Regions from separate parts of the Homo sapiens genome. Here regions 1, 3, 4, 5, 6 and 7 are each linked to region 2. The links are contacts of gene promoters, found by promoter capture Hi-C in blood cells and fetal thymus (Javierre and others, 2016). All regions are on one chromosome and are shown on one strand. Each heading gives the region's core, a stretch centred on a gene start or on the middle of the fragment in contact. The rest is flanking DNA. Distances are from core to core; before and after follow the strand shown.

The links. The method cuts DNA at HindIII sites, captures the fragments that hold promoters and counts their contacts. A CHiCAGO score of 5 or more calls a contact.
Region 1: a contact is called between a fragment that was not itself captured here and the fragment with the promoter of QRICH2 in region 2, in 9 of 17 cell types (activated CD4 T cells, M2 macrophages, naive CD4 T cells and 6 more). The highest score is 10.8, in activated CD4 T cells.
Region 3: a contact is called between the fragment with the promoter of ST6GALNAC1 here and the fragment with the promoter of QRICH2 in region 2, in 4 of 17 cell types (naive B cells, total B cells, megakaryocytes and 1 more). The highest score is 8.4, in naive B cells.
Region 4: a contact is called between the fragment with the promoter of TRIM47 here and the fragment with the promoter of QRICH2 in region 2, in 9 of 17 cell types (non-activated CD4 T cells, activated CD4 T cells, total CD4 T cells and 6 more). The highest score is 9.9, in non-activated CD4 T cells.
Region 5: a contact is called between the fragment with the promoter of TRIM65 here and the fragment with the promoter of QRICH2 in region 2, in 1 of 17 cell types (naive CD8 T cells). The highest score is 5.1, in naive CD8 T cells.
Region 6: a contact is called between a fragment that was not itself captured here and the fragment with the promoter of QRICH2 in region 2, in 5 of 17 cell types (M1 macrophages, activated CD4 T cells, non-activated CD4 T cells and 2 more). The highest score is 6.8, in M1 macrophages.
Region 7: a fragment that was not itself captured here is called in contact with the fragment with the promoter of QRICH2 in region 2 in 4 of 17 cell types (M1 macrophages, M0 macrophages, non-activated CD4 T cells and 1 more); the score reaches 7.0 in M1 macrophages.

What each region holds. Positions count from the first base shown.
Region 1 is chr17:76,032,366-76,036,217 of GRCh38, forward strand. No RefSeq gene overlaps it. Among named protein-coding and RNA genes, the nearest start is that of EVPL, 7.0 kb to the left of the region's middle. RefSeq lists an enhancer at 1,630-2,237. The HindIII fragment of the contact is 7,176 bases long and covers 1-3,852 here.
Region 2 is chr17:76,306,821-76,311,040 of GRCh38, forward strand. QRICH2 (glutamine rich 2) reads right to left here and starts at 1,456. Exons shown (of 19, transcript NM_001388453.1): 1 at 645-1,456. The coding sequence starts at 1,178. PRPSAP1 (phosphoribosyl pyrophosphate synthetase associated protein 1) reads right to left here. Exons shown (of 10, transcript NM_002766.3): 10 at 2,658-4,220. The HindIII fragment of the contact is 8,448 bases long and covers 1-4,220 here.
Region 3 is chr17:76,641,799-76,645,509 of GRCh38, forward strand. ST6GALNAC1 (ST6 N-acetylgalactosaminide alpha-2,6-sialyltransferase 1) reads right to left here and starts at 1,959. Exons shown (of 9, transcript NM_018414.5): 1 at 1,710-1,959. The coding sequence starts at 1,840. The HindIII fragment of the contact is 3,284 bases long and covers 1-2,130 here.
Region 4 is chr17:75,877,331-75,881,304 of GRCh38, forward strand. It overlaps TRIM47 (tripartite motif containing 47), which reads right to left and starts at 1,251. Exons shown (of 6, transcript NM_033452.3): 1 at 544-1,251. The coding sequence starts at 1,218. It also overlaps a transcript of TRIM65 not described here. RefSeq lists enhancers at 1-625, 626-1,541 and silencers at 386-565, 576-955, 1,086-1,435. The HindIII fragment of the contact is 18,500 bases long and covers 1-3,974 here.
Region 5 is chr17:75,894,947-75,898,876 of GRCh38, forward strand. TRIM65 (tripartite motif containing 65) reads right to left here and starts at 2,005. Exons shown (of 6, transcript NM_173547.4): 1 at 1,578-2,005. The coding sequence starts at 1,991. It overlaps MRPL38 (mitochondrial ribosomal protein L38), which reads right to left. Exons shown (of 9, transcript NM_032478.4): 9 at 3,698-3,930. The coding sequence ends at 3,904. RefSeq lists silencers at 1,275-1,844, 1,875-2,354 and enhancers at 1,722-2,431, 2,432-3,139. The HindIII fragment of the contact is 5,525 bases long and covers 1-3,930 here.
Region 6 is chr17:75,914,373-75,918,277 of GRCh38, forward strand. It overlaps FBF1 (Fas binding factor 1), which reads right to left. Exons shown (of 30, transcript NM_001319193.2): 21 at 3,790-3,897; 22 at 3,559-3,698; 23 at 3,360-3,478; 24 at 645-767; 25 at 375-560. Among named protein-coding and RNA genes, the nearest start is that of MRPL38, 11 kb to the left of the region's middle. RefSeq lists an enhancer at 556-850. The HindIII fragment of the contact is 9,083 bases long and covers 1-3,905 here.
Region 7 is chr17:75,944,232-75,948,199 of GRCh38, forward strand. ACOX1 (acyl-CoA oxidase 1) reads right to left here. Exons shown (of 14, transcript NM_004035.7): 14 at 1-2,564. The coding sequence ends at 2,517. Among named protein-coding and RNA genes, the nearest start is that of FBF1, 5.2 kb to the left of the region's middle. The HindIII fragment of the contact is 183 bases long and covers 2,108-2,290 here.

The sequences.
Region 1 (3,852 bases), core at 792-3,291, 270 kb before region 2:
AGGCTTGATCAGACCAAGAACAGTGAGACTCTCGGCTCCAAGACTGCCAGACACAGCTGGGCATATGTGCAGCCCGGCCACAGGGTGGCCACTTGGCATGTGTGCCAGCAGTTAAGCCCTCTGGTGCCCACTCTCTCCTCCAGCTCCGGGCTCCTGTGGGGAGGCATTCTTCTCCCTGCTGAGGCAGATGGTGGTAATTGCCTCCTTTGTCCCGGGAGCCGTAAGCTACCAGGCGCCCATGTGTTCCTGATGAGGCGAGGCTTTGCCGTCTCAGGAAATTGCCCTGTTTGTACAAAAGCTCCGCTGCCAGACCCTTGGACCGAAGTTGAGTAATGACCTCTTCCCTTCACTCCCTTCGCCCACTGAGCAAAGCAGAGGCACCCTCCTCCAGCTGGGCCTAGAGGAGCACAGTCTGGCGGACTGGGGGTTCAAGGGACCAGCCTCCTTCCGTTGTCTACAGGTATAGGATTGGCGGGTAGAGGCTGTGGCCCAGGAATCTGCAGGGCCACCAGGAGGAGGCTCTTTTGGCTGTGAGTCTGCCTGGCAAGTCCGATAAAAAGAACTGAAATGCCAAGGTCAGCCTAGAGAGAAGCAAAAGGTGGTACAGCTTGCCTAACCAGACAAGAGTGGGGAGGAACAGGTGCTAGTGATTCCTTTTGGGACTTTTACGGGGAAGGTTTAGAGGAAGCAACTACCAAAACTCCAAAAAACAGAAAACAACCAAATCTTGTGTGTGTTAAGAGAGCAGGCAGGATTCCTCATACTAAATGGCAAGAAAGAGAACATAGAGGGAACCCCTGGAATCCTCAAAACCAAGGCTGCCTTAGGGTATCTGTCCCTCCCTCTGAACCATCCCCTTTCCCTGGGAGAAAGGGGACCCACAGCACCAGCCCCAGTTCAGCTGTAGGACTGATGCTGGTGCAGCCCACTCCCCAGCCCCTGCAGCCATCTCGTGCATGAGCCATCCCTGCATTCCAGAAGTCTGCAGCCCAGCCAGTCTTACTCAGGAACTGGTAGGCCCAAGGGCTCTGGGCCTCTCTGCCACCTTTAAGATAATAGCTGTCCTTACTAGCTAGGTCCGGGGACCTGCAGCCCTATTTTGGAGAAGTGCGGATGTGACGGAGGCAGCCAGCTAACTGTCCATGCCAAGATAATGACCTGCGTTGCCGCTTGAGAAAATGTCCCACCGGCTGCACCACAGCAGCAGGGGTCTGGTGGCATCTGGCACTGTTCACTGTTCAGAGGGAGAAAAAGGTTTATAAAACAGACAAACATGAAAACGAAGGAACAAGAAGTTCTCATAGCTGCCTGATTTGTCTCTATTGTCAGGAAGCTGGAAAGGGGAGGTTAAACCACCCAGCACAGACAGCAGCTAGTCAGACCCAAACTATTGTCTGAATGGCATTGCATAGACTTAGGAGGACTTCCTGGGAAGGGGAAGACAAGGACGCAGGCTGGCTGAGTGGAAGGCTCTCTCAGCTATGTGTACCCATCGACTCAGGGTACAGCAGCCCACACTGTCTTGGGGTCTGGGCTCAGAACATTTTGGGGGAACCTCCTCACTGTCTCCTCCCAGCAACTTTGAGACGCAGCCGCCCCTGTTGTACAGGAGCTGGAGTGTGCTCAGAGGCAATGGACTAGTCAGTGTGGGGCAGGGATCCAGGAGCTCGGAGGACCCTGGGCACCTGCTCTCTCTGCCTCACACCTCTTCTTAGGCAGCATGGGAGGCACTGCCTGGTGAGGCCTTTGCACAGCCACGTCTGTCTCCATTCCACAGATGAGCCGCAGCTAACGTTACTCAGCTTTCACTGGCCCAGGTACCTGCCCGTCATAGCTGGATTGCTAGGTCAGAAGATCCCTGGGGAAGCACTTTGGGGGGCCGAAGCTGCGGATCACCTGAGGTCAGGAGTTCGAGACCAGCCTATCCAACTTGGTGAAACCTCGTCTCTACTAAAAATACAAAAATTAGCTGAGCATGGTGGCACATGCCTGTAATCCCAGCTACTCAGGAGGCTGAGGCAGGAGAATCACTTGAACCCGGGAGGCAGAGGTTGCAGTAAGCTGAGATCGTGCCATTGCACTCCAGTGTGGGCAACAAGAGTGAAACCTCATCTTGGAATAATAATAATAATAATACTTCTACTGGATGCTTGTAGAGCCCCTCACTCTGTGCCAGATGGTGCTCAGAGCAGAGGGTGGACCCAGAGGCCAGGGCCTATCTACTGTGTGCAACCCGCACAGCCTGCCACCCCAGCTGGCCCTGGGCGGTGCCCCCAGCCACAGCCCCTCCCAGGTCCTCCTCCCAAGTGTCTCTAACATCTAACAGAATAACAGGTTGGATTCTTCCAGTTGGTGTTGTCAGGATGCAGGCAATTTCCAATTTATTCTCTTTGCTTTGGAACATCGATAAATTTTACAGCTAAATCTGCTTTCCATCTCCTCTGTAGCAACAACTGTCTTCAAACAAAAAATTAGAACCAACACATATTTTTGCTATCTTTGGATATTTTCCTAGACCTCTAAATGTCCCAGGCTTTTCAAGGCTGCAGACAGAATTGTGCTGTTTAGAATTCTGTGATCAGTTGGCTTTTTTGTGTGTGACTAACGACACCTCGTATGTGAAAAATTAGCGCTGCCACAGCGATGACAGTGAACAGAGCACAGTCCCACCCTCAAAGCCCCTGGCGTTGGCCTTCCTCTCCTAGAGGGGGTGAAGCCTCTGCCTCAGCTTTTGGGAGGAAAGTCCTGGCTCTGGCCCAGAGCCGCTATGGGTTGAGGATGGCCTGTCATCACAGGCTGTCACCTTGTGCTTGTGGTGACAGGCTCAGGTTGCCACCAGGGGAAGGGGTCGGAACCAAGCCCAGCACCGTTTCATTTCAAAGAGGGAATCCAAGAGTTCTCACTGATTTAATGTAAAACCAGAGAGGAGACAGCAAATCCAAACAACATTCGGGAAGAGAGGAACAGGCCAGGAGACCCAGCAGCAAAGGCCAGTGCCATCCTCAGCCACCTCGTGCTCCTGACCCTCACCCAGCAGGCCTGGTGGGGCTTGCCTGGAACAGAGAATAGAAACTATGATCACATAGGCCAGGCGTGGTGGCTGACGCCTGTAATCCCAGCACCTTGGGAGGCTGAGGCGGGTGGATCACGAGGTCAGGCATTTGAGACCAACCTGGCCAATAGAGTAAAACCCCATCTCTACTAAAAATACAAAAAATTAGCTAGGCGTGGTGGCGCATGTCTGTAATCCCAGCTACTCGGAAGGCTGAGGCAGGAGAATCGCTTGAATGGGAGGCGGAGGTTGCAGTCAGCCAAGATCACACCACTGCTCTCCAGCCCGGGCGACAGTGTCAGACTCCATCTCAAAAAAAGAAAAGCCCAGGTGCGGTGGCTCATGCCTGTAATCCCAGCACTTTGGGAGGCTGAGGCGGGTAGATCATGAGGTCAGGAGTTTGAGACCAACCTGGCCAAAATGGTGAAATCCCCATCTCTACTAAAAATACAAAAATTAGCTGGGCGTGGTGGTGGCCACCTGTAATCCCAGCTACTCGGGAGGCTGAGGCAGGAGAATTGCTTGAACCTGGGAGGTGGAGTGAGCCGAGATTACACCACTGCACTCCAGCCTAGGCGACAGAGCGAGACTCCATCTCAAAAAAAAAAAAAAAAAAAAAAAAAAAGGACAGAAACCACGACCACGACCACATCCACAGCAGACCTAGGGCAGGCTTTAAAAGTATGAGACCGGGCCAGGCGTGGTGACTCATGCCTGTAATCCCAGCACTTTGGGAGGTCGAGGCAGGTGGATCACTTGAGGCCAGGAGTTCGAGACCAGCCTGCCCAACACGGTGAAAC
Region 2 (4,220 bases), core at 206-2,705:
AAGTTGCAGTGAGCCGAGACTGCACCACTGCATTTCAGCCTGGGTGATAGAGTGAGACTCCTTCTCAAAAAAAAAAAAAGTCCAAGTGAAACGGTCCCCTGCCTGCTGTGGCTTGTGTCATGGCCATAGGAAGCTGAGGTCCAACTCTCCATCCTGACTCCCCTTCTCTGGGAGCCTTTGTCCTCAACACGTATCTCTTCATGTCCTTATTCATTTTAAAAAGGGAATTCACTCTAAGAATCTTCTGAGAAGTTGCCGGCCCCACTCTGAGCCAGCTCTGGGTCCTTGGATGTCTGATAAGTGGTGGGCGAACCTCTCCCGTAAACAGGGGCTAGGAAGGAGGGGGTGGGATGGGGCCACTACACTTAGGAGGTGGGGTCCCCAGGCCCCTCCAGCTCGGGGAGGCCCTAGGCCTTTTGGTGGCGTTCTTTTAGGATTTTCACGTCTTGCAGCCCCGTGGACTGCAAGGTAGAGCATGGGCCACTCTATTTAGCCAGTCGCACTGAGGTCTGGCACCTCCTCGGTCCCCATCCCCTCCGTCCCCACCACCGCTCACCCCTCCAGGGTGGTGGGGACTCGGCTAGGCCTGGAGGGCGGCCTGGAGGAGGCAGACGGCCTGCGCGTGCCTCCGTGTGCGTGCTCACCCTGGCAAAGCTGAGCTCCTCGGCGGCGTCCTTCATGATACTCCCAGTCCGCACCCTATCGAACGCCCGCACGCCCACCTCCTGCTCCTCCGGCCACTCTAGCGCGGCCAGGTCAAGCCCGCTGGCCTGGGAGAAGTGCTGCACGTGCGTGGCGATGCCCTGCACCTGGCCGTCCACACGCTTGAGCTGCTTGCTCAGGTCCTCCACCTGGCCGCCCAGGTCCTTCACTTGGCTCTCCAGCGCTGACGAAGGCGCCTGGCCCACGCCCCTGCGCTTCTCCCGGGGCGCCCCCTTGGGCACCTCCTTGGGCGCGGGCAGGTGCGGGATGCTGAACGAGCTCCGGACGGACTGCAGCGAGCGGCTGGGCTCGGGCGACGAGGGCTGGAAGTCGATCCGGGTATTTTGGAGGTCGAGGTTCTTGAGCATGGCCACGATGAGCGTGTGCAGGGCCGTGAAGTTGACGGCGCCCACCTCTGGCGTGCCGATGGAGAGGTCCGCCAGCTCCCGGAGGGAGACCGTGGTCGCGGGCGGCATCGTGGCTGTCAGGAGCTGTGCGCCGCCGCGGGGCGCCGGCCAACCACTTCCCGCTCACTGCACGCCGCGCCTTGGGGCCTTTCGGGGGCCCTGCGAGGTCCTCGGGGCGCCCCTGCCCCGGGTCCGGCCGAGTCACTGGACAGAGCTCCTGCCTCCAGGGAATCTGCGCCTCCGCTCCCCGGCGGGGTCCGCGATGGCCACCCCTCCGCTGTCTGTCGCTGGCCTCGGGTCCCCGAGCTGGAGCCCTGGACTCCCAGTCCCCGCGCCGGCGGACGTTTGAAACGTGGGGGCCCCCGCGTGCCCTGAAGATTCCACGTAACAACACGCCTCCCTGCGAGCCACGGGGGCGGGGGGAAGTAAAGGCCACCACAAGGATCACAAGGGGAGCCTTGGCAACGGGCTGAGGAGGCCTCCTAAGATCCAGCTAGACTCCATCCATCCCCTTAACCTAGAAAGGCCAGGATTCACTCACTCTTGGCGGGGCCACATAAGGAAAGACTTGAGGGTTTCCTGGCAACCATGCTTTGTGTCATCAGCTGCGTCCATTCCAGAGTGGTGGCCCCATGTCTATGGCCCCATGTCTAAGGGATGCAGTCCTGGGGCCCTGGTCCCCTCAGACAGTCCACATATTTTGTTCAATCAAAGGTGAAGCAACTTGGAAAAGACAACCCACTCACTATTCAGGCAGTTCCAATTAGCCACTAGATGACTAACTGGTGGCTAATTGTCCCTTTTCTGTGCTGCCATAATTTTTTTTTTACTTTTGAGAGGGAGTCTTGCTCTGTCGCCCAGGCTGTAGTGCAATGGCACGATCTCGGCTCACTGCAACCTCTGCCTCCCGGGTTGACATGATTCTCCTGCCTCAGCCTCCCGAGTAGCTGGGATTACAGATGCGTGGTACCATGCCCGGCTAATTTTTTGTATTTTTAGCAGAGACGGGGTTTCACTATGTTGGCCAGGCTGGTCTTGAACTCCCGACCTCAAGTGATCGACCCACCTCGGCCTCCCAAAGTGCTGGGATTACAGGTGTAAGCCACCGCGCCCAGCCTGCCATAAATTAATTGATCTCAAAAAAACGGCCAGGCTTGGTGGCTCACACCTGTAATCCCAGCACTTTGGGAGGCCGAGGCGGGTGGATCACCTGAGGTAAGGGGTTCAAGGCCAGCCTAGCCAACATAGTGAAACCCCTCTGCTAAAAATACAAAAAATTAGCCGGGCATGGTACCGCGCATCTGTAATCCCAGCTACTCGGGAGGCTGAGGCAGGAGAATCGCGTCAACCCGGGAGGCAGAGGTTGCAGTGAGCCAAGATCGCACCACTGCACCCCAGCCTGGGCGACAGTGCAAGACTCTGTCTCAAAAAAAAAAAAAAAGAAAAGAAAAGAAACCACTCACCTGGTCAAGCGCCTGTGCTTGAGCTCATTACAAAGCAGGATTAAACAGCACGAGACAAATCTGGTGTTAACAATTGAGACATGACTTCCCCATACAAGATTCTTCCCAAAAACGTATAAATAAAACTTCCTAACAGAAGCACAGCAAGGCTACTTAAAGAGAACCTATGAATGTGTGCCATGCATGGCCAGCCTCCTCCGTGAGCTCTGCATCTGCAGATTTAACCAACCACGACTGAACACGTACAGATTCCTGTCATGATTCTCTAAATAATACAGCATGACCACCATCTACACAGGATATTGCAGTAGGTATTACAAGTCATCCAGGATGTGCATAGCTTATATGCAGATACTACACCATTTTCTATCAGGGACTTGCACATCCATGGGCAGGAGGTTGAGTCCTGGAACCAATCACCCATGGATTGTAAGGAATAACTGTACTATTTTAACTACTGTTCAAGTTCAGATTTTTCACTTCAGCCTGAGAGGTACTGTTTATTTAATTGAAGGATTTTCGATCATCATTATATTCCAATAACTTGGGACACAGTAGGCCTTTAAGGGGTTATCAAAATAACTAGTTCTTTGCAGTCTTTTTTTTTTTTTGAGATGGAATCTTGCTCTGTCACTTGGGCTGGAGTGCAGTGGCACAATCTCAGCTCACTGCAATCTCTGCCTCTTGGGTTCAACCAATTAATTCTCCTGCCTCAGCCTCCCGAGTAGCTGGGATTACAGGCGTGCACCCCCTCCCCCAACACCCGGCTAATTTTTGTATTTTTAGTAGGGACAGGGTTTCACCATATTGGCCAGGCTGGTCTCAAACTCCTGACCTCAAGTGATCTGCCCACCTCGGCCTCCCAAAGTGCTGGGATTACAGGCGTGAGCCATGATGCCTGGCCTCTTTGTAGTCTTTTTATGCTTTTAACTTAGCTAGGCTAATTTTTGTATTTTTAGTAGAGACGGGGTTTTGCCATGTTGGCCAGGCTGGTCTCAAACTCCTGACCTCAGGTGATCTACCTGCCTCGGCCTCCCAAAGTGCAGGGATTACAGGCATAAGACACGATCCCTGGCCTGTTTTTTTTTTTTGAGACAGGGTGTTGCTCTGTCACCCAGGATGGATGGCAGTGGTACAATCATAGTTCACTGCAGCTTCAACCTCCTTGGCTCAGGCAATCCTCCCACCTCAGCCTCCCAAGGTAGCTGGAACTACAGGCACATGCTACCAATGCCTGGCTAATTTTTGTATTTTTTGTAGACATGGGGGTTTCGCCATGTTTCCCAGGCTGGTCTGAAACTCCTGGGCTCAAGCAATCCTCCTTGCCTCAGCCTCCCAAAGTACTCAGATTATAGGTGTGAGCCACCACACCTAGACTTTTTTTTTTTTTTTTTAAAGATTTAAAATACAGTATTCAACAAGGATTTAGCTTCAACACTTAGGAAGAGGGTGGAACCTGGGAAAGTGTTTGTGTCCAGCCACAGACCTGACTGCTGTTCTGTATCCATGGTCTTCTGCTGTCTAATGAAAAGACTAGCAAGACAACAAATTATTTTATTTGCAACTTCAGAGCCACTCAGATACCCAGAGGTGGGATGCTATTTTCTAATCTGACATCCTTGGAAGATGTAACAACATGAATGCTTCA
Region 3 (3,711 bases), core at 709-3,208, 340 kb after region 2:
AGTACCTACCCTGTGGAATGCTAAGCAACTGTTGAAAGAAGGGAGTGGACCTGTATGTCCCGACATGGAAAGATGTCCATGATATAGTGTGACTTACAAGGTCAACCTGTGGAACAATATGTAGCATGAGATACATATATATGTATATATACGTATATATGAGATATATATATAAGCTCTCTTGTGCATATATATGTAAATCTATATGATATATATGTGTATATATCTATATCTATATATACAATATATCTATATATACATATCTCTCATGCTACATATTGACATATAGTATATCAATATATAGCGTATATATTGTATATATATCTCCATACTATATATAGATATCTATATCTCCATCTATCTATCCATCTATCTGTCCATCTATCTGCCTATCTCTCTATCTCTCTCTCTCTCTATCTGCCTATCTATCTATCTATCTATCTATCATCTATCTATCGGGCTTGTATAGCATAAAGGTAATGAGCACAGGGTATGGCACCAAAATGCCTGGGTTTGAATCTTGGCCCTGCCGCATACTAGCAGGGTGACCTTGGGAGAATCACTTCAGTTCTGTGTATCTCAGTGTCCTAATAATGAGAATTAGTGAGTTAACGTATATCAAGCACTTAGAATAGGGGCTAGCTCATAGTAAATACTATAGCAGTGTTAGCTACATAATAATAGAATTCCGTGTACCCTCAAGTGTCAAGAGTGGTCACCTTGAAGAGTGGATAGAGGTGGAGGTATAATAGGGAGACCCTCACTTCCTGCTTCACCTTTCTGTATTTTTTTTAACTCTATGAGAACCTGCATTACTTTCAACGTTTAGGAACAGTGAAATGAAATTATTGGCTGGGCGCAGTGGCTCACGCCTGTCATCCCAGCGCTTTGGGAGGCCGAGGTGGGTAGATCACTTGAGGTCGGGAGTTCAAGACCAGCCTGGCCAACATGGTGAAAACCTGTCTCTACTAAAAATACAAAAACTTAGCCAGGCCTGGTGGCATGCGCCTGTAGTCCCAGCTACTCAGGAAGCTGAGGCTTGAACCTGGGAGGTGGAGGTTGCAGTGAGCTGAGATCATGCCACTGCACTCCAGCACTCCGGCAGCAGAGTGAGACTCCGTCTCAAAAAAAAAAAAAAAAAAAAGAGGGCCTCTCACTGCTGGAGATGTGTGTATTTTCTAAGAAAAATGGTCTAGAAGGTATTTTTGAAGGATTAACTTGGCGTCCACAATTGAAACTGCATCCCTAAGAGGGAGGCTCTCCATTTTAACTGACAAACTTAGGGTGAGTCCGGGTCTGAAACAAGTGGAACACACAGCATGGCTCTTTCGCTTCAGGACGTAGAGAATGGCATGTAAGAACTAACCCAGTGCTGCTGCCATTACTCACAGTCCCAGAGGGGAAAGCAGTCATGTCTTCTGTCTGCACTCTGCAGACCTAACCCATCAGTTCTCAAACTCCTGTACGTGTCCCACAGTATCTGGACATGTCCATCCCATGCGTCTTGGTTGCCCACTGCCACCCTTTCTGTTCCCTGCAAGTCTTCCCATTAGTCTTTCTTCCCAGTGCTTCTTGAGAACACTCCTGACCCCTGACACTCCCATGTGGACACACAGGTGGCTCAGACTTCCCCAGTCCTCCCTGGGCTATCATTTTTCTGTTTCCTCAAATGAATGAAATATGAGGAGTGGAAAGGACAAGAATCTTACCTGGAAGGCTTTGTTTGAGGCTCCTTAATAAAAGAGGGCAAGGCGAAGAGAAAGAAGACCAGGACAGCCAGAAGCAAGGACCACTGGACGCCTTGGCTCAGGTGCCTGCATCTCCACAGGCAGGACCTCATGGTGGTGGGTCGGGTTCTAGAGGAAGGTTCTGCATGTCCTGGGGCCTTGATGTAGGCAGCTGGGAGTCTCACCGCTCAGGTTTCCTGGCCAGGAAGTGCACACCCTTTGTCTTAACAATGAGCCACTCCGGCAAGTGCTGAGTTTATCAGTCTCTGCCTGGGAAGGGAGGAACCGCCTTCACTGCTGTATGAAGGCTTATAAGCTGGCGTGGCTTAAAGGAAGGGAAACTCCTTGTGTTCAAACATGTTTACCTTCCTTTTTTGTCTTTGAAGCCAATATCTGAAAGTCAAGCTTTATGAGAAATATAACCACATTATATGCAGTCTCATCTTGGTCAGGTTACTTAACCCATCTGCCGCCATATAAATGGAAAAAAGCAGTTATCTTCCTTTTGGGATTATCATGAAGACACCTTGAGGCCACCATGCACAGGGCTTTGTTTGTGGTAGGCACCCAACACACATGTTCAACACTTTAGCTCAACCTTCTCTGTTTCTCTTCTGAAATCATGACCATTACAACAATGACCAGCACGTATGAGGGCTCACTCTGAGCTGGGCAGTGGGGAGTCTTCACAGGCACTCATGGAACCCTCACAGCCACTCTAGGGGCTGGGTACTGTCATCACCTCCATTTGACAGAGGAGGAAATGGCCTCCAAGAACAAGCTGCCAGCCCAAGAGCACATGGTGAGCCACTGGCTTGGGGTCCAGATCCAACTGACCTAGAGATTGCATTCTTTTTTTAAGAAATAGAGATGGGTCTCAGTATGTTGCCCAGGCTGGTCTCAAACTCCTGGACTTAAGTGATCCTCCCACCTCAGCCTCCCAAAGTGCTGGGATTACAGGCATCGGCCACCATGCCCAGCCATGATTGCATTTTTCTTTCTTTTTTTTTTTTGAGACATTCTCACTCGTTGCCAGCCTGGAGTGCAGTGGCGCAATCTTGGCTCACTGCAACCTCCGCCTCCCGGGCTCAAGTGATTCTCCTGCCTCAGCCTCCTGAGTAGCTGGGACTACAGGCACCCAACACCACACCCGGCTAATTTTTGTATTTTTAGTGGAGACGGGGTTTCACCATGCTGGCCAGGATGGTCTCGATCTTCTGACCTCATGATCCACCTGCCTCGGCCTCCCAAAGTGCTAGGATTACAGGTGTGAGCCACCGTGCCTGGCCGATTGCATTCGTATCCACTGCTTAGTAGCACCTACGAGAAATCATTAACTCTACCTTGATCAAAGCAATGCAAAACAAAACCCACATAATTCTTGGGAAAAAAAAGTACACCTCAGAGGAAAAACATCAAGACCATTTGTAGAAAACTTTAAAAATTCAGAGAAGCAGCCCTCCATAAAGTACTGTGAGTTAGTAATTTTATAAAAATATTGTCCAGGGTGTTGAACTGTGGGAGAGGTTTTGGAGCCTGGGCTCACTGTTCACACCTGGCGGTGGGCATTTCTCCTAACGTACAGTTTTCAGTTCTGTACACAAGGCTCTTGGCCTTCACCCATGGCACGCACCGATAAATGATTAAACCACCTTCCTCAAGGAGGACGAAAAAGGCAGGAACATACGTCTGAGCAGCTGAGGGTAATACAGACGACTGATGGTTTCCTTTATCCCCTACTGTACACTGCAACTCACAGCACTGTTTCAAGTCATGGTGGCAAGGAGAAACATCTCTGTTAGTACTGACTCAACCTCTCTCTTTCTCTCTCACCGTGCCTAACCTACAGATGCTCATATGTTAACTCTATAAACATTTTCTGAATTGATCTGTATCAAGTCATAACTCTTTGTCCTAACTGGCCCCTTATCCTGAGTTCCTTTATGCACTTGACATGTACAATTATATTCCTGTATCCTGGTGC
Region 4 (3,974 bases), core at 1-2,500, 430 kb before region 2:
CAGAGGCGCCAAGACCGGGCTGGAGGCCAAAGGAAACTGGGGGCGGGAGGTAGAGGCCGCGGCTCACATGCTCCCACCACTGGCCCCCGGAACAGCTGGACAGAGAATCTGTGTGCCCGGTCGCCCTCTGCCGCCCTCCTGCCGCCTGCCACACCCATCGAAAGCTGCTGCCTCAGCCCAGGGCAAATCTGAGCTGAGACCGGCGTGACCCTCCGGGCGGGAGCAGCAGCCACGCTACCGGAACCCCGCGGGCCTAACCCGGCTCCCTCCCGCCTACACCCCCATAGACCCCGGCCCGGCTTCAGGTCCCCTGCCCGCTCTTCGCGTCCTTGTCCTGTTCTCACGTCCCTCCTTCCTCCCTTCCCATCTCCATCACCGCCAGCAGATGACCTTGTCAAGGCTGGAAGGGACCGCAAAGATCCTCAGGTTAGAGGAGGAGATTAAGACCCAACCCGGGAAGACTGGGGGGTCCAAGGTCCTCGGCCCGCTCGCGCGCGGTCGGTCACCAGCCCCGGCTCACCCGAGTGTGCCCCCGGAGCCCACCTCCTGAAGCGCGCGCTCCTGCTCCAGCGGCACCAGCTCGTGGCCGCGGTGCTCCTGTGCGGCGCAGGCCTCGCACAGACACACGCGCTCCGCGCGGCAGTAGCGCTCGAGCGGCCGTAGGTGGCGCGGGCACAGGCTCTCCTCTAGCCGGCGCAGCGGCGGCACCAGGCGGTGTCCGCGGAGGGCGGGGCTGCGCTCGTGCGGGCCCAGGTGCGCGGGGCAAAAGGAGGCGAGGCAGGAGAGGCAGGACAGCGCGGCGGGCAGGGCCGCGCCCTCGGGGCACGCGTCGCAGCGCACTGGCTCTTCGCCCGCGGGCCACGGCTCGGGAGCGCAGGGGGCCGACGGCTCCGGGACACTGGGCAGCGCGCTGGGTGCCGAGGGCTCCGGGGCCAGGGCAGGGGCCGGGCCGGGGCCGGACCCGGGGCCCGAGCCCTGGCGGAGCTGCAGCAGCTCGGACAGCGTGTGGTTCTTGCGGAGCTGAAGGCCGTCGGGGAAGGGCTCCTGGCACAGCGGGCAGCGGGCCGCGCCTCCGGGTCCGCCGGCTCCACTCGCGCCACGATGCGGCCAGAGCGCGCCCAGGCAGGCGAGACAGAAGTTGTGGCCGCAGGGCAGCGTCACCGGCTCCCGGAGTGGCTCTAGGCAGATGGGGCAGCTGAAGGGTCCACTGCCGTCCATGACTCCGCGGCCGCCCAGGGCGCCGCCGATTGTGCTCCGGCCTGGGAGGGACCCGGGCCGTTCGCGCCGCGGCACCTCCCCCTGGGACCTAGGCCAGGGCTCCGGCCCCCGCCCGCCCCCAGCTCGGCCCGCCCCGCAGCACCGCCCGCCTGCGGGCCCGCGGACTCCCAGTCCCCGCCCAGACAACGCAGGGAGGCCTCCGAGCCCGCGCGACCCCCAGGGGAGTCCGCGTGGTCCTAAGGAAGGGCGCTGCTGAAAGGGTGTGAAACTGAGTGAGCGCGGGCGGAGAACGCGAGAGGTACAGTGGAAGGAATGGGAAGGACTCAGCCTCCATCCCTCTGGTCCTTCTGGGCCAGGCCAGCGCTCCGCAGGGGCTGGGCGCGTCTAGCTGTGTCATGCCTGCACCTTTGCGCTCGACCCCTCCCTGGCACCCTTAGCAAAGTTCCTGAGCTGCTGACTGCAGAGAAAAATAACTGCTGATGTACATATGTTTTTGCCCCTTAGCGACTCTTTTTTTTTTTTTTTTTGAGACAGAGTTCCTCTCTTGTCGCCCAGGCTGGAGTGCAGGGGCGCTATCTCGGCTCACTGCAACCTCCGCCTCCCGGATTCAAGTGATTCTCCTGCCTTAGCCTCCCAAGTAGCTGGAATTATAGGCGCTTGCCACCACACCAGGCAAATTTTTGTATTTTTTTGTAGAGACGGAGTTTCACCTTGTCCAGGCTGGTCTTGAACTCGTGACCTCAGGTGATCCACCTGCCTCGGCCTCCCAAAGTGCTGGGATTACAGGCGTGAGCCACAGCGCCCAGCTCCTTTAGCGACTCTTTACCCCAAGTAGGGAACTTGGACTTTTCTAGACCTGAAATGGGAAGTTGACGTCATTCCCTAAGTCCCTTGTCTGAGGAATGTAGTTCTGGCCCCTGGACACTGGGGACACCTGTGGTGGGGTTGGGGGTTCCCCAACTGGAAGTATTTAAAGCTCATCTAATTATGCACTTAAAGTGGTGCGTTTTATTGTATGAGTTATATCTCAATAATGTTAAGTTAAAACACTACACCAGAATGACAACAAAATAAGTAAAGTAGCACTGATTATAACCCAAAGTGTAAAATAAACATCTATGAGTCCATGCCGATATAAATAAATAATAAATTAACAAGCTGGGGAGAACAGACATATTTCGCATTGAAAATTCCAAATAATGTTTTTTTATTTTTATTTTTTTAGATGGAGTTTCGCTCTTGTCGCCCAGGCTGGAGTGCAGTGGCGCAATCTCAGCTCACTGCAACCTCTGTCTCCTGGGTTCAAGCGATTCTCCCTCCTCGGACTCTTGAGTAGCTGGGATTACAGGCGCCCGCCACCACATTTGGCTAATTTTTGTATTTTTAGTAGAGACGGGGTTTCACCATGTTGGCCAAGCTGGTCTCGAACTGCTGACTTCAGGTGATCCACCCGCCTCGGCCTCCCAAAGTGCTGGGATTACAGACATGAGCCACCGCACCCAGAGATATCTGTAATTTTGGTTAGTGACAAAGTCACAGGTAACTGCTCATACCACTCTGGTGTATTCTCTCCATTTGGAATAGAAAGAAATGCTGTGTTTCAGTAAGGTGCTGCAGCGTGGCTTCCTTCTGCAGGATCTGAGGGAGACTCTGTCCTGGGCGTCTGTCCCAGCTTCTGGTACTGGCTGGCAATTCTTGGCGTTCCTTGGCTTGTAGCTGTAAGATGCGCTCTAATATCAGTCTCTGTTGTCATTTGCCTTTTCTCTGTGTCTGTGTTCAAATGTCCTTTTTTTTTTTTTTTTTAGGGAGTCTTGCTCTGTTGCCCACTCAAACTGCTGGGCTCGAGTAATCTGCCTGCCTCAGCCTCCCAAAGTGCTAGGATTACAGGCGTGAGCCACTGTGCCCGGTGCCCATTTCCTCTTATCAGGACACCAGTTGTTGGATTAGGGCACGCTCTACTCCAGTATGCCCTCATCTTAACTCAGTCACATCTGAAAATACTCTATTTCCAAATAAGGTCACAGCCACAGGTCCTGGGGGTTAGGATCCGAATACGTCTTTTTCAGGGAACAGGATTCAACCTATAACAGTGCATAAGTAAGGAAATGTTGGAGAGAGGCCCAGGCCCAAATGTGCTAGAGGTCATGCATGTCCCCCGGTGTTCCTGGCCCTCTCTGTGTTCCAGGACCCTGGCCCTTCCCTAAACCTCAGCACACACTGCTGCTTGTCCCACACCCAAACCCTTGTCCACCTCTCCCACCGGGTCTGCATTCCTGCCTCTGTTTCCCCAGCTCTCTAGGCTTGGGGGGTGGGAAAATACCCTCAGGTCCCCTGAGACCAGACTAGAAATGTTCAGAAGGCACTTCATGAGTTCAGAGCTAAAGAGGAGAAAACACAAGCAAAAGAGCACAAATGTGCCGGGTGTGGTGGCTCACGCCTGGAATCCCAGGACTTTGGGAGGCTGAGGCGGGCGGATCACTTGAGGTCACGAGTTCCAGACCAGCCTGGTTAACATGGCGAAACCCCATCTCTACTAAAAATACAAAAAAATTAGCCGGGCGTGGTGGTGCACACACTTGTATTCCCAGCTACTCGGGAGTCTGAGGCAGGAGAATCGCTTGAACCAAGGAGGCAGAGGTTGTGCCACTGTACTCTCCAGCCTCGGTGACACAGCGAGACTCCATCTCAAAAAAAAAAAAAAAAAAAAAAGAAAAGAAAAGAAGAAAGAAAGAAGGAGGGACCCAGCCTCTTGGGGA
Region 5 (3,930 bases), core at 755-3,254, 410 kb before region 2:
AGAGCTCCAGCAGCTGCCCGGGGCGGGGTCAGCGCGCGGCAGGGCTGGGGCCAGGGTCCCAGGTGCCACAGGCCCGTCCCCTGGTTTGTCCCACTGGCCACTGTGACCTCTATATGTCCAAGGCCAAACTCTGCCCTCCACCTACGCCTCTCAGGACATAGCACCCCAGCCACCTGCGTGCTCAAGACAGAAACCCAGGTGTCTCCCTTGCCGCCCTCTCTGCTGTCCCCCGTGTCCCCTCTGGCCTGCTTTCGCCTCCACAAGGTACCACTTCCCCTCAGCGTTTCTCATCTCCTCCTCCATCTTGGTCTCCCTTCCCTGATCCCCAGCTGGTTCTTTGCCTCCCTGCACTCCTACCCGATTCGGGTCTTACATCCTGCCCCCTTCAGCCCCCAGCCAGGTGATCAGTCTCCATGAAGCCCAAATCTGATCATGTGCCAACCTGCTTCCAAGCCTATAATGGCCCCCATGACCCTACAGTAAGAGCCAGACTCCCCCAGGACCCTGCCCGATCCTGCCCCTGCTGACCCCCAGGGCCTGGCCCACAGATCTCAGTGGCACAAATCTGCCACTAGGGACCCCGCGTGCCCAGTTCTTTCCCATCCCAGAGACGGGACCAGGCTGATTCCTCTGCCTAGAATGCTCTTCCCCAGGTCTTTCTCCTGGCTTGCGCTTCCTCAATCCTCACATGCCAGCCTGAAGGCGGCCTCCCCTTCCTCCTCCTGGCCCGTTTAGCAGGGTCACCCCAACCCCTCTATCACATGCCATGTGCTTTCCTCACTGCATTTTGTAATAATACATTCACGCCTTACTGGAACACTGACTTCTTAAGTGGATTCTAAGTCTCTTAAGGGCAGGGAGCTCGTCTGATCCATTTACCAACAGCCCCCATAGCCCCCTCGCCCTCCACAACCCCGCACAGCGAATGAAAGGAGGCTCTCGGAGCGCAGGAGACACACGACGGTTCTCTAGCGCTTGGGCACGGAGCAGGGAGCTGCTGCCTCACGCCCAGGCTTTGTTCATCCAGAGGGCACCGAGCAGCTTCTGAGACCCACCCTGTGTCACTGGCCGGGCTGCATATCCCAGTCTGATGCACAGACCCACGATTTTTTGTTTGTTTATTTTCTGAGACGGAGTCTCGCTCTGTCGCCCAGACTGGAGTGCAGTGGCACGATCTCGGCTTACTGCAAGCTCCACTTCCCGGGTTCACGCCATTCTCCTGCCTCAGCCTCCCGAGTAGATGGGACTACAGGCGCCCGCCACCACGCCCGGCTAACTTTTTGTATTTTTAGTAGAGACCGGGTTTCACCGTGTTAGCCAGGATGGTCTCGATCTCCTGACCTCGTGATCCGCCCGCCTCGGCCTCCCAAAGTGCTGGGATTACAGTCGTGAGCCACTGCGCCTGGCAGACCCACGACTTTTATAATCAGCTCCCAGGTTGGGAGAAGCCCCTTACAGATGAGGCTCCCCGCCCCCGCCGGGTGCCCGAGAGAGCAGGGCGCGGCCCGCAGGAGTCACCCGGCGGTGGCCAGGCTGCGGCGGGTCCGGACCCCTCCCGCTCCCGGCGGATGCGTCACCTCGCGCTTGAGGCGCTCGGCATCCAGCAGCGCCCGCTCGTGGAGGCGACACTCGCGCACGGTGCACACGCTGCACACACAGCGGCCCTCGGTCCGGCAGAAGAGCTCCAGCGGCCGCCCGTGGCGGGGGCAGCGCGCGGCAGGGTCGGGGCCGGGGCCGGGATCGGGGCCGGGATCCCGGGCGGGCCCGGCGCGCACCACCTCCAGCACGCCGCTGAGGGCCACGTTGCGGCGCAGCTCGGCGCCGTCGGGAAAGGGCTCCCGGCACTCGGGGCACGCCTTTCCGCAGCGGTCCCACCAGTCCCGGATGCAGGCCCCGCAGAAGTTGTGGCCGCAGGGCAGCGTCACTGGGTCCTGGTAGAGCCCCAGGCAGATGGCGCAGGTCAGCTTCTCCTCCAGCAGCTGCGCGGCCATGGCCCGGCGGCGGCGAGAGCCAGGCGGGCCCCGGGCGTCTTAAAGGGACCGCGGGCCTCGCGCGCTGAGGGCGCCTGGGCGTGGCTAACGCGGGGCGGGGCGAGATCCGGGCGGGGCGGGGCGAGATCCGCGCCCGGGAAGGCGGAGGGGGGCGGCAGGCCCTTCTCTGACACCCTCGACGAGCGACCGCCGCAGGGGCCTAGGCCACCCCTGCCCACCTCGGCCTGGCCCGCTCGAAGGTTCCGCGTTCCCGCCTTGCGCCCCTCCCTCCGTTAGGGTCCACGCCACCCCGGCTGAGAGCTGAGTTCGGCTCTCTAGGGTCCCAGCCTGGCGGGTCCATCCCACCCCCCTGGGCCTTCAGCCCAGGTCCTGGAGACCAGAGGCTCGAAAACCCCGCCAGGACTCCGGGCTTCTGACCACGGGCCGCGCGGAACCTCTTCTGGACTCATCTGCCAGTCGCCTAACAGCATAGACCCCCACCCCCAACAATCCCCCGGGGCTTGGCGATGAAACGGGCTGGCGGGCTCCCTGCAGACCCGAGCACTGCTGCACTTTTTCCTGGAGCTGGGTTTCGGACACTTGCCAGACTGGGGTGTCTCCCTTCTCTGGGCTACACGTAATTTTGGTTCTTTTAAAGTAAACAGCGAGATGGAAATGTCTGGTCACCAAGAGACAGGGACCAGTTAACTGGTATTTTTCAAATGGCCCTGAATGAATACACAAACCAGCTTTCATCTGCAATCAGCATCCCCTCTTCCTGCTGCCCTCCGCTGGGGAGAGTTCCTTGCCTGGGGTCCAAGCTGATCTGCAGCCTCAGTATTTACAGGCACTCCAGCATTTCCCCTGAAGCTGAGCAGGCAAGGCGGGTCTGGGGCCTAGCGCCCACCTACCTGACAGTGTGTATCAGGCCAGGGGGAACCCCAGGAGAGTACGGCCTTTCTAACCAAGCTGGGCTGATGTTGAGGCGGCACGAGCTCTCACTGCTGCAGCAAGCACTGCGTCCTCTGTGCGGCCATAGACGAAGTTTCTTTCTGGACAAAGTGCACGGATCTACCCTCCACCTACTAGTTAGCCAGACTTCTGCTTTTGGTAAGGGAGAAACAAAACACCTAACCATCCAGCCGCAAGACTCCATGGGTTTTCTGACCCTGAGCAGGTCTCTTGAGACACGCTGTTGCCTACCTAATGTGGCTTCTCCTCCCAAGCATGGGGTGGGGGCTGGAGCCTGTGCAGAGGGTCAGTGCTCGGGCAGGCACTCTCTCTCCAGGGGCCGGTGGGACCCCCCTGAGGCACAGAGCCAGTGCTCAATAAATGCTCCTTCCTGAGCCCAGCTGCTCTGCTCCACTTTTTCGGGGAGCTGGGTTTCAGGAACCTGCTGGATTGGGATGTCTCCCTTCCCTGGGCCACACCTGTTTTTGGCCCACTGCCTGCTTTTGCTTCGGATCCCAGGGCCCCTGACACCCTCAGAAGACGGAGGTGAGGACGCACTTAGTGGGGTGGGAGGCAGCCCGTTTCCCACCCATGAAGCTCCATCGGGGTCCTCTGGCCCTGGAGCACCGACCCAGGCCAGCTATGGCAGAAATCCCTTTTTTTAAAAAATACAGGCAGGGTCTCATTATATTGCCAGCTGGTCTTGAACTCCTGGGCTCAAGCGACCCTCCCTTCTCAGCCTCCCAGTGTTGGAATTACAGGTGTGAGCCACCAAGCCCGGCAAGAAATCATGTTTATTCACATTCCCCACCCCACCACCTGAGAGTCACTTTCACTCCAAGCCCTGGGCCTGACGGGAGGGGGCCAAAGAGGGGGGCTGCCTAAGGCAGGGCCCAGACCCCACAGTGTGGGCCTCTGGAGCTGTGTCTTTACTCTTGCTGCCGATCAATCCCATGCTCTGAAATGCGCACACTCTGGCTCCTTAGTAGATGCCATAGGTGGGCTCATG
Region 6 (3,905 bases), core at 36-2,535, 390 kb before region 2:
CCTCTGCCCACCCTGCCCCTGGGAGGAGGTGGTGGAGCCAGGGGCTTCCAGGGAGAGCCAGAGAAGCCTGGGGCCAAGCCGGAGTGCTGCCCTCACAAGCCACGTGACTGTGGCAGGCTCAACTCTGAAGTTCGGTTTCCTCATTTCTAAATGACCAAAGTCATGGGAACATGAGGATCAAATAAAATGTGTATAATGCACCTGGGACAATACGAGGAAGATGTTAGCATGATGATGCGATTACTGTTTTAATCCCTATGCTCTTGTGACATTAGTGCTACACTCTCCTTTCCTAAGACTGGAAGCGGATGTGTCCAGATGGAGGGGCGCAGGCAACCCTGGGCCCTCCACTGTCCGGAGGCTCTGGGCCCTACCTTGGCCAGGCTGATGAGGGTGCCCTCCCGCTGGGTGTCCACCTGCAATGCCCGCTCGGCCTCGCGCTCGGCCCGCTCCTTACTCAGCTTTTGCTGCGCGGAGAACTCCGCCCACTCGGCAGCCAGGCGCCGCCGCTCCTCCCCGCACTTGAGCATGACAGACTTCTGCTCCTCCAGCAAGGCGCTCTGGGATGTGGGGGTGAAGGCACGGGGTGAGTGTCCCTGGGCATAATGGCAGGGGCAGGGGCTGAGTGCGGTGGCTTGACTCACCTTGGCCCGTTCCAGCTCCGCCCTTTCCATGGCCATCTGCTGGGCCGTGACCTTCCTTTGCTCCTCTAGGGCGCGCTGCATGGACTCCGCCTTGGACTGCTCGGCAGTCACCCGCCAGCGTTCCTGTAGGGCCCAGGGCAGGACTGAGAGCGTGGTTCCCGCCCTGAGGATCACGCCTGGCCACTCCCTGAGAAGCTGCATGAACCCACCAGTGTCTCCCACACTATGCCACTGACACGTCCTTCCCAAAGAGGCACAAAATGAGGGGTGCCTGGGAGGCACTGCCAGGGCCCAGCCCGCACGATTCTGCCCAAGAGAAGGACCCAGCAGGTGCCCTCCCAACCCTCAGGTCTCCAACAGCACCAAGGCTAGCAGCTTGGGAGGGCCAAAGAGCAGCAACATCCCTGCCGCTGAATCGCCAGCTACGCACTCTGCCTGTCCTCACCCATCAGCCAAGCAGGCTAAGCACAGGGTGGCTTAATGCTGTGCTGTGGGCCCAGCCACACACAGCACAAGGCGAGAGCTTCACTGTGCCTGACCCCAGGCAGATGCTTAACACAGTTACCAAATGAAGAGGCGAATCAAAATGCTTCACAACATAAAAGCATCTCTATCTACGTTGACATGGCTACAGGATAGATATCAGGTCAGCAGTGGACATCTCTGACTAGTGGGATATTTTTATTTTCTTCTTTAAAAACATTTTTTTGGGCCGGGCACAGTGGCTCAGCCCTATAATCCCAGCACTTTGGGAGGCTGAGACGGGTGGATCACCTGAGGTCAGGAGTTCAAGACCAGCCTGGCCAACGTGGTGAAACCCATCTCTACTAAAAATACAAAAATTAGCTGGGCGTGGTGGCAGTTGCCTGTAATCCCAGTAGCTCAGGAGGCTGAGGCAGGAGAATCCCTTGAACCCAGGAGGCGAAGTTTGCAGTGAGCTGAGATTGCGCCACTACACTACAGCCTGGGTGACAGAGCGAGACTCTGACTCAAAAAAAAAAAAAAAAAAAAAAAAGTTTTTGGCTGGGCATGGTGGCTCACGCCTGTAATCCCTGCACTTTGGGAGGCCAAAGTGGGCAGCTTGTCTGAGCTCAGGAGTTTGAGATCAGCCTGGGCAACATGGCAAACCCCCGTTTCTACAAAAAATACAAAAAATTAGCTGGGTATAGTGGCATGCACCTGTGATCCCAGCTACTTGGCAGCTGAGGTGGGAAGATTGCTTGAGCCCAGGAGGTTCAAGCTGCAGTGGGCTGAGATCTTGCCACTGCACTCCAGCCTGAGTGACAGTGAGACCCCATCTCTAAAAAAAATTTTTTTTTTTGGCCAGGCATGGTGGCTCCCACCTGTACTCTCAAAATGTTGGGAGGCCTAAGTGGGCAGATTGCTTGAGCCCAGGAGTTCAAGACCAGCCTGGGCAACATGGCAAGACCCACATCTCAGTAAAAAATACACAATTAGCTGGGTGTGGTGGTTTGCGCCTGTAGTCCCAGCTACTCAGGAAGCTGAGGCAGGAGGATGGCTTAAGCCAAGGAGGTCAGGCTGCAGTGAGCTATGATCACACCACTGCACTCCAGCCTGGGCAACAGAGCAAGACCCTGTCTCTAAAAAATAACAGTGCTTTGTAAAACCTTAGAAGATGATAACTACTAGCTGAGGACAAAAAGATAGGTGGGAGGACAAGGAAGGCTTTGTGGAGGTGGTAGCATCGAAAGATTCATTACCATTGAATTCAGCCTAGAAAGATTTCCACAGGTAAGGAAAAGGATGTGAGCAAAGGCAGGGACTGCAGGTGTGCACCACCACACCCAGTTAATTAAAACAAAATTTAAATGTTTTTATTATTTATTTTTTTGAGACAGAGTCTCGCTCTGTTAACCAGACTGGTGTGCCATGTTATGATCTCCACTCACTGCAGCCTCTGTGTCCTAGATTCAAGCGATTCTCCCACCTCAGCCTCTCTAGTAGCTGGGATTACAGGCGTGCGCCACCACGCCTGGCTAGTTTCTTATTTCTTTATTTTTAGTTTCACCATGTTGGCCAGGCTGGTCTCGAACTCCTGACCTCAAGTGATCCTCCAGCCTTGGACTCCTGAAGTGCTGGAATTACAGGCATGAGCCAACTTGCCTGGCATAAAAAAATTTATTTATGGTCTCGCTAGGCTGGTCTCAAATTCTGGGCCTTAAGTGATCCTGCTGCCTCAGCCCCCCAAGTAGCTGGGATTATAGGCACAGGCCACTGTGCCTGGCTAAGGTCATCATTATTTAAATAAAGCATGTGCTTATATATGAAAGGTATCTAGGGAATTCAAATGTCTCTGTGAGAGCTGAAGAGGCTAGGATGACATTTAATGGGCAAGAGCATCTGTCCCAATGTCAGGCCTCAGCTAATGTGACAGATTCGAGTGTCAGGAAGTGGGAAGTGCAGCTGATGGTTGCGGGGGCTAGACTGCGGAGGGCAGCCAAGGTGGCCGAGGGGCTTGCGGTGCTGAGGAGCGGACAGGGCGTGGTGGGGGGCCTGGCCAGGCGGCCCCTGCATGCTCAGGTGGGCAGTGCTGAGAGCCTGGCCAGGGCAGGGAGATGTAGAGGCAGGAAGCGGCAGGTGGGGCCTTGACCTCCTGAGGAAGTGAGGTCACGGGAGTGCCGCTACACTTGCGGGTGCCCTGGAGAAGAGGCCCCGTGGCAGGAGGGGCAGGAGGGCCAGGAGGACGGGCCTCACCTGCTCCAGCAGCCGGCTCTGCTCATTCAGCCGTGCCTCCATCTTCCCGATGACCTCCTGTTGCCGGCTCCGCTCCTCCTCCATGTCCCGCTGCTGCTGGCCCAGCCGCTCCTGCAGTGCTGGGGGCAACCCACAGGGTGCTCAGCAGCTGCTCCCCCTTCCCACCAGGAGCCGGGGTGGCTGAGAGGGGAGGGCGTACCCCGCAGCTGCTCGTCACGCTGCCGGATCCCCAGCTCCCGCTCCTGGGAGGTGGTGAGGTGCGAGGCCTCCACGCGGGAGGACAACTCGTGCAGGCTGCTGGAGAACTTCTCCATCTGGTGGATGATGCTATTCAGGGACCTGGAAGAAGACTGGGTCACCCCCTCCTGACGGTCTCGGGGACCTTCCGGCCCCCAACGTCAGGCGGGCATGGTTGGGGCAGCGCACATACCGCGTGTGGGAGGTGGCACTGGTGGCCGCATCGACCTCTCGGTCCTTCAGCAGCTTTAGCCGCTGCAGCTGCTCCTCGTGGTCTCTGCGCATGTCTAGGATGGACGCCCTGAGGGG
Region 7 (3,968 bases), core at 949-3,448, 360 kb before region 2:
AAAAAGATAAAAATAAAATTCCTACTCAGTAATTTTGGAGAAGACAAGGTTAAAATGTATCTTTGTACTTGTGAAAATGGCTTACAAAATTTTGAATCCAACAGACCCAAACTTGTCAGTGGCAGTCTAGTGTGGTAGAGAGAACAAACTGGACTTGCCACTTCCTTTAAGGTACAGCCAACAAATGTGTACCAAGTACTTCCAAGGACTCCTAAAGTGACTGGAGCCACTCACAACTATTGGTACAACTGCAGTAATTACAGCTGATTTACAGCTGTCCACTCAGGCAGGTATCACTCCTTCCTTTTTTGTTCTTAGTGTTCCCTAAATCTAATAAACCTCTATTCTAAATTTCTTCATAATTTAAACCTATGTTTAGTTGTGTGGCATATTTTTTCTCTCTTAATAGTACAAATCAGTGACGTTTACTCTATCTTTATTCTTGATTATATTGAATAAAGTTCAAGACAGAACATTCCAATATTAATAAAAATAGCATCAAATGTCAGATTTAGATTTTTTTTTTGAGACGGAGTCTCGCTCAGCCACCCAGGCTGCAGTGTAGTGGCACCATCTTGGCTCACTGCAACCTCTACCCGCCAAGTTCAAGCGATTATCCTGCCTCAGCCTCCCGAGTAGCTGGGACTACAGGCGCGTGCTACCACCATGCCCAGCTAATTTTTGTATTTTTTTCAGTAGAGACGGGGTTTCACCATGTTGGCCAGGATGGTCTCAAACTCCTGACCTCAGGTGATCCACCCGCTTCGGCCTCCCAAAGTGCTTGGATTACAGGCGTGAGCCACCACGCCTGGCCCCAGATTTAGATTTTAAATAAAACGTGAGGTACTGGGTCAAAGGGGGCTCTGCAGGTCGATGATCTCCTCAAACCTGCAAAGACATCCCATCTATGCAACTGGATTGGGGGGTGTCATTCCAAACACCCTCAGATCCTGCCCAGATATTCATCTGTGAACAAGGTATTTCAACACTAATTTTGAAACAATTCTACATCTAGCAGGTCAGTTTATCATTTTCCAGAATCTGAACTACTGTCAGGATAGACTCAAGTGAGATTAACACAGGGTTAATCTTCAATCTTAACACAATTATCAATTAGTTCTCCCAGTGGAACGATTAAGGCTTTTGTCAACATGTAGCATTTCTGCTGTAACCTATAAGTCTCATATTACCAGTTCCCCAGGATAGATAGATATTATGTCAGGTCCCAAGATAGGAGTTATGTTTCCATGGAATTAAGCCATATTCTCAGGACTGATTCTAGAACAGCTGGTTTCATGAGGCATATGGCGTAGATTAAAAAAAAACAAAACAAAGTGACTTACATTGACTTTAAGAAAAAATTAATTAAGATGTATTTAACCTTTAAGTATAGAATGATTGTATAAATTAGATTTCAACTGAAAGGACAATTAGCGATTCAGAGAAAGCTCCTAGAAATAGACTGAAAACAAAGCCATACATAGAGTAAGAAATAGAACCTATGGAACTTCCATTTTTCTAACTATAGTTTTTTGTTTTTGTTTTTTCCCAGTTGTTAAAAAAAAAACAACTCACAGTTTCAATATTTTCTGAACCAAAAATCAGAACACATGGTTTGTGTCAAAGGGTTTTTCTGTGCTACGTCTGGGAGTGCTGACCTAAGTGACATTTTTTTTTAATGCCAAATACAGTAATCTCCAAGCTTTTAATGGCTTATGCCAAGATGACAGAATATGTGAAATCTGATTGTCCCAGAGTTACACTCTGCACTCCAAAGCTACAACAGTGCCACAGCTGAGAGGTTTCCCTATACTTCCTACTACTGTGACAATTTAGCAATCCTTCAAATGGAAAATTCCTAATTACACGAGACAATGGTCCTACAGTAGGCCCGTGCGGAATAAGTTCCCTCGTTGGAAAAATGCTAGCATGAATAGTTTGATAAATGCAATCCATCAGCAAAGGAGAGCAAGCAGGCAGAGACTGTGCCAAGCAGAAACTCATTCGCATCAAGTTTTCCAATAAGTTTCCTTCCCCCAGTCCCTTTTCTTCAATCCTGCTTTTAAGCCAGGCCCCAGGGTAAGTCTGGTAGAACACTGAGCAGGAAAGCTTGGAAGGGTTCTACACCACTTCAAAAATACCTTTGCTTAAAAACACTTATATAGCCAGTGATTAGCAATTAAAATGTGAAAATAATCAACTACTCAGTAGTTAAATTCTGCTAATTATCAAAAGTCATAGTCTACTGGGATCAGCAGCATTACAAAAGGAAGTCATATCGCATTTCTTAAGCTTTTTCTGAATGGTTTAACAGGTCTCTTTCAGTGTTAATTGCACTTAAAACATCTGCTTTTTTTCATTTAATCTCTGAAATCTGTTCATTTTTTCCCTCCATTTATAAAAAGGGGTCAATTTATCATTTGCTCTATAGCTATTTGAATTCGAAAAAGATTCCACAAAATTTGAGTTGCACACAGGCGCTTTCTGAAGCAGATTAAACTTGTCCTTGTGACACTTCAGAGCTTGGACTGCAGTGACTTCAGGTGCTTGTAAGATTCGTGGACCTGTGGGGAAAGGAGAGAGAAGAACTACTAATAAAGAGTTTGCCATGTTAAATAGTATACTGTTTTTTGTTTTTGTTTTTGTTTTTTTTTTGAGACTGAGTCCTGCTCTGTTGCTCAGGCTGGAGTGCAGTGGCACAATCTTGGCTCACTACAGCCTCTGCCTCCCAGACTCCAGCGATCTTCCCACCTTAGCCTCCCGAGTTGCTAGAACTACAGGTGTGTGCCATGACACCTGGCTGCTATTTGTATTTTTTTGTAGAGATGGGGGTTTACCATGTTGGCCAGGCTGGTCTAGAACTCCTCAATTCAAGTGATCCACCCACCTCAGCCTCCCAAAGTGCTAGGATTACAGGCGTGAGCCACTGTGCCCAGCCTGTGGTTGTTTCTGAAGAGTCCTTATCTTTTAGAGCTATGCATTGAATTATTTATGGATAAAATTATCTGATGTCTTAGTTTTTTTTTTTTTTTTGAAACGGAGCCTCGCTCTTGTTGCCCAGGCTGGAGTGCAATGGCATGGTCTCGGCTCACCGCAACCTCCGCCTCCCAGGCTCAAGCAATTCTCCTGTCTCAGCCTCCCAAGTAGCTGGGATTACAGGCATGCGCCACCACGCCTGGCTAATTTTGTATTTTTAGTAGAAACAAGGTTTCTCCATGTTGGTCAGGCTGGTCTCAAACTCCCGACCTCAGGTGATCCACCTGCCTCGGCCTCCCAGGTGTGCATCACTGAGCCTGGCCCTGATGTCTTAGATTTATTTCAAAATAGTCCCCAGGAGGAGGGGGATGAAGGTTCAGATGAAACACAACTAGCCACGAGTTGATAGTCATTGCTGCTAGACAAAGGGTGTACCAAAGAGCACTACGGAATTCTCTTTTTGTATATTTTATTCTATTTGTGTGTGTGTGTGTGTGTGTATACTTTTTTTTTTTTTTTGAGACAGAGTTTTGCTCTTGTCACCCAGGCTGGAGTGCAATGGCACGAACGTGGCTCACTGCAACCTCCGCCTCCTGGGTTCTCCTGGGTTCAAGCTGAGGCAGGAGAATTCCCGAGTAGCTGGGACTACAGCCGTGCACCATTACTGCCTGGCTGCTTTTTTTGTATTTTTAGTAGAGATTGGGTTTCGCCATTTTAGCCAGGCTAGTCTCGAACTCCTGACCTCAGGTGATCTGCCCACTCGGCCTCCCACAGTGCTGGGATTACAGGTGTGAGCCAACGCACCCGGCCTGTATATATTTTTAAATGTTCAATTCGTTATCAAAAATTGAAATTGATTAAGACCCTGGTTACTGTGGGAACAACCCAGTTCCCTTCTGAACCTGTTGCTCAAATAAAGTGACTGTCAGAAGTGGCCATGGTACTTTCAGAGCTTTCACAGATAAATCCCCTTCGAGAGGCCTTTCCTGCTT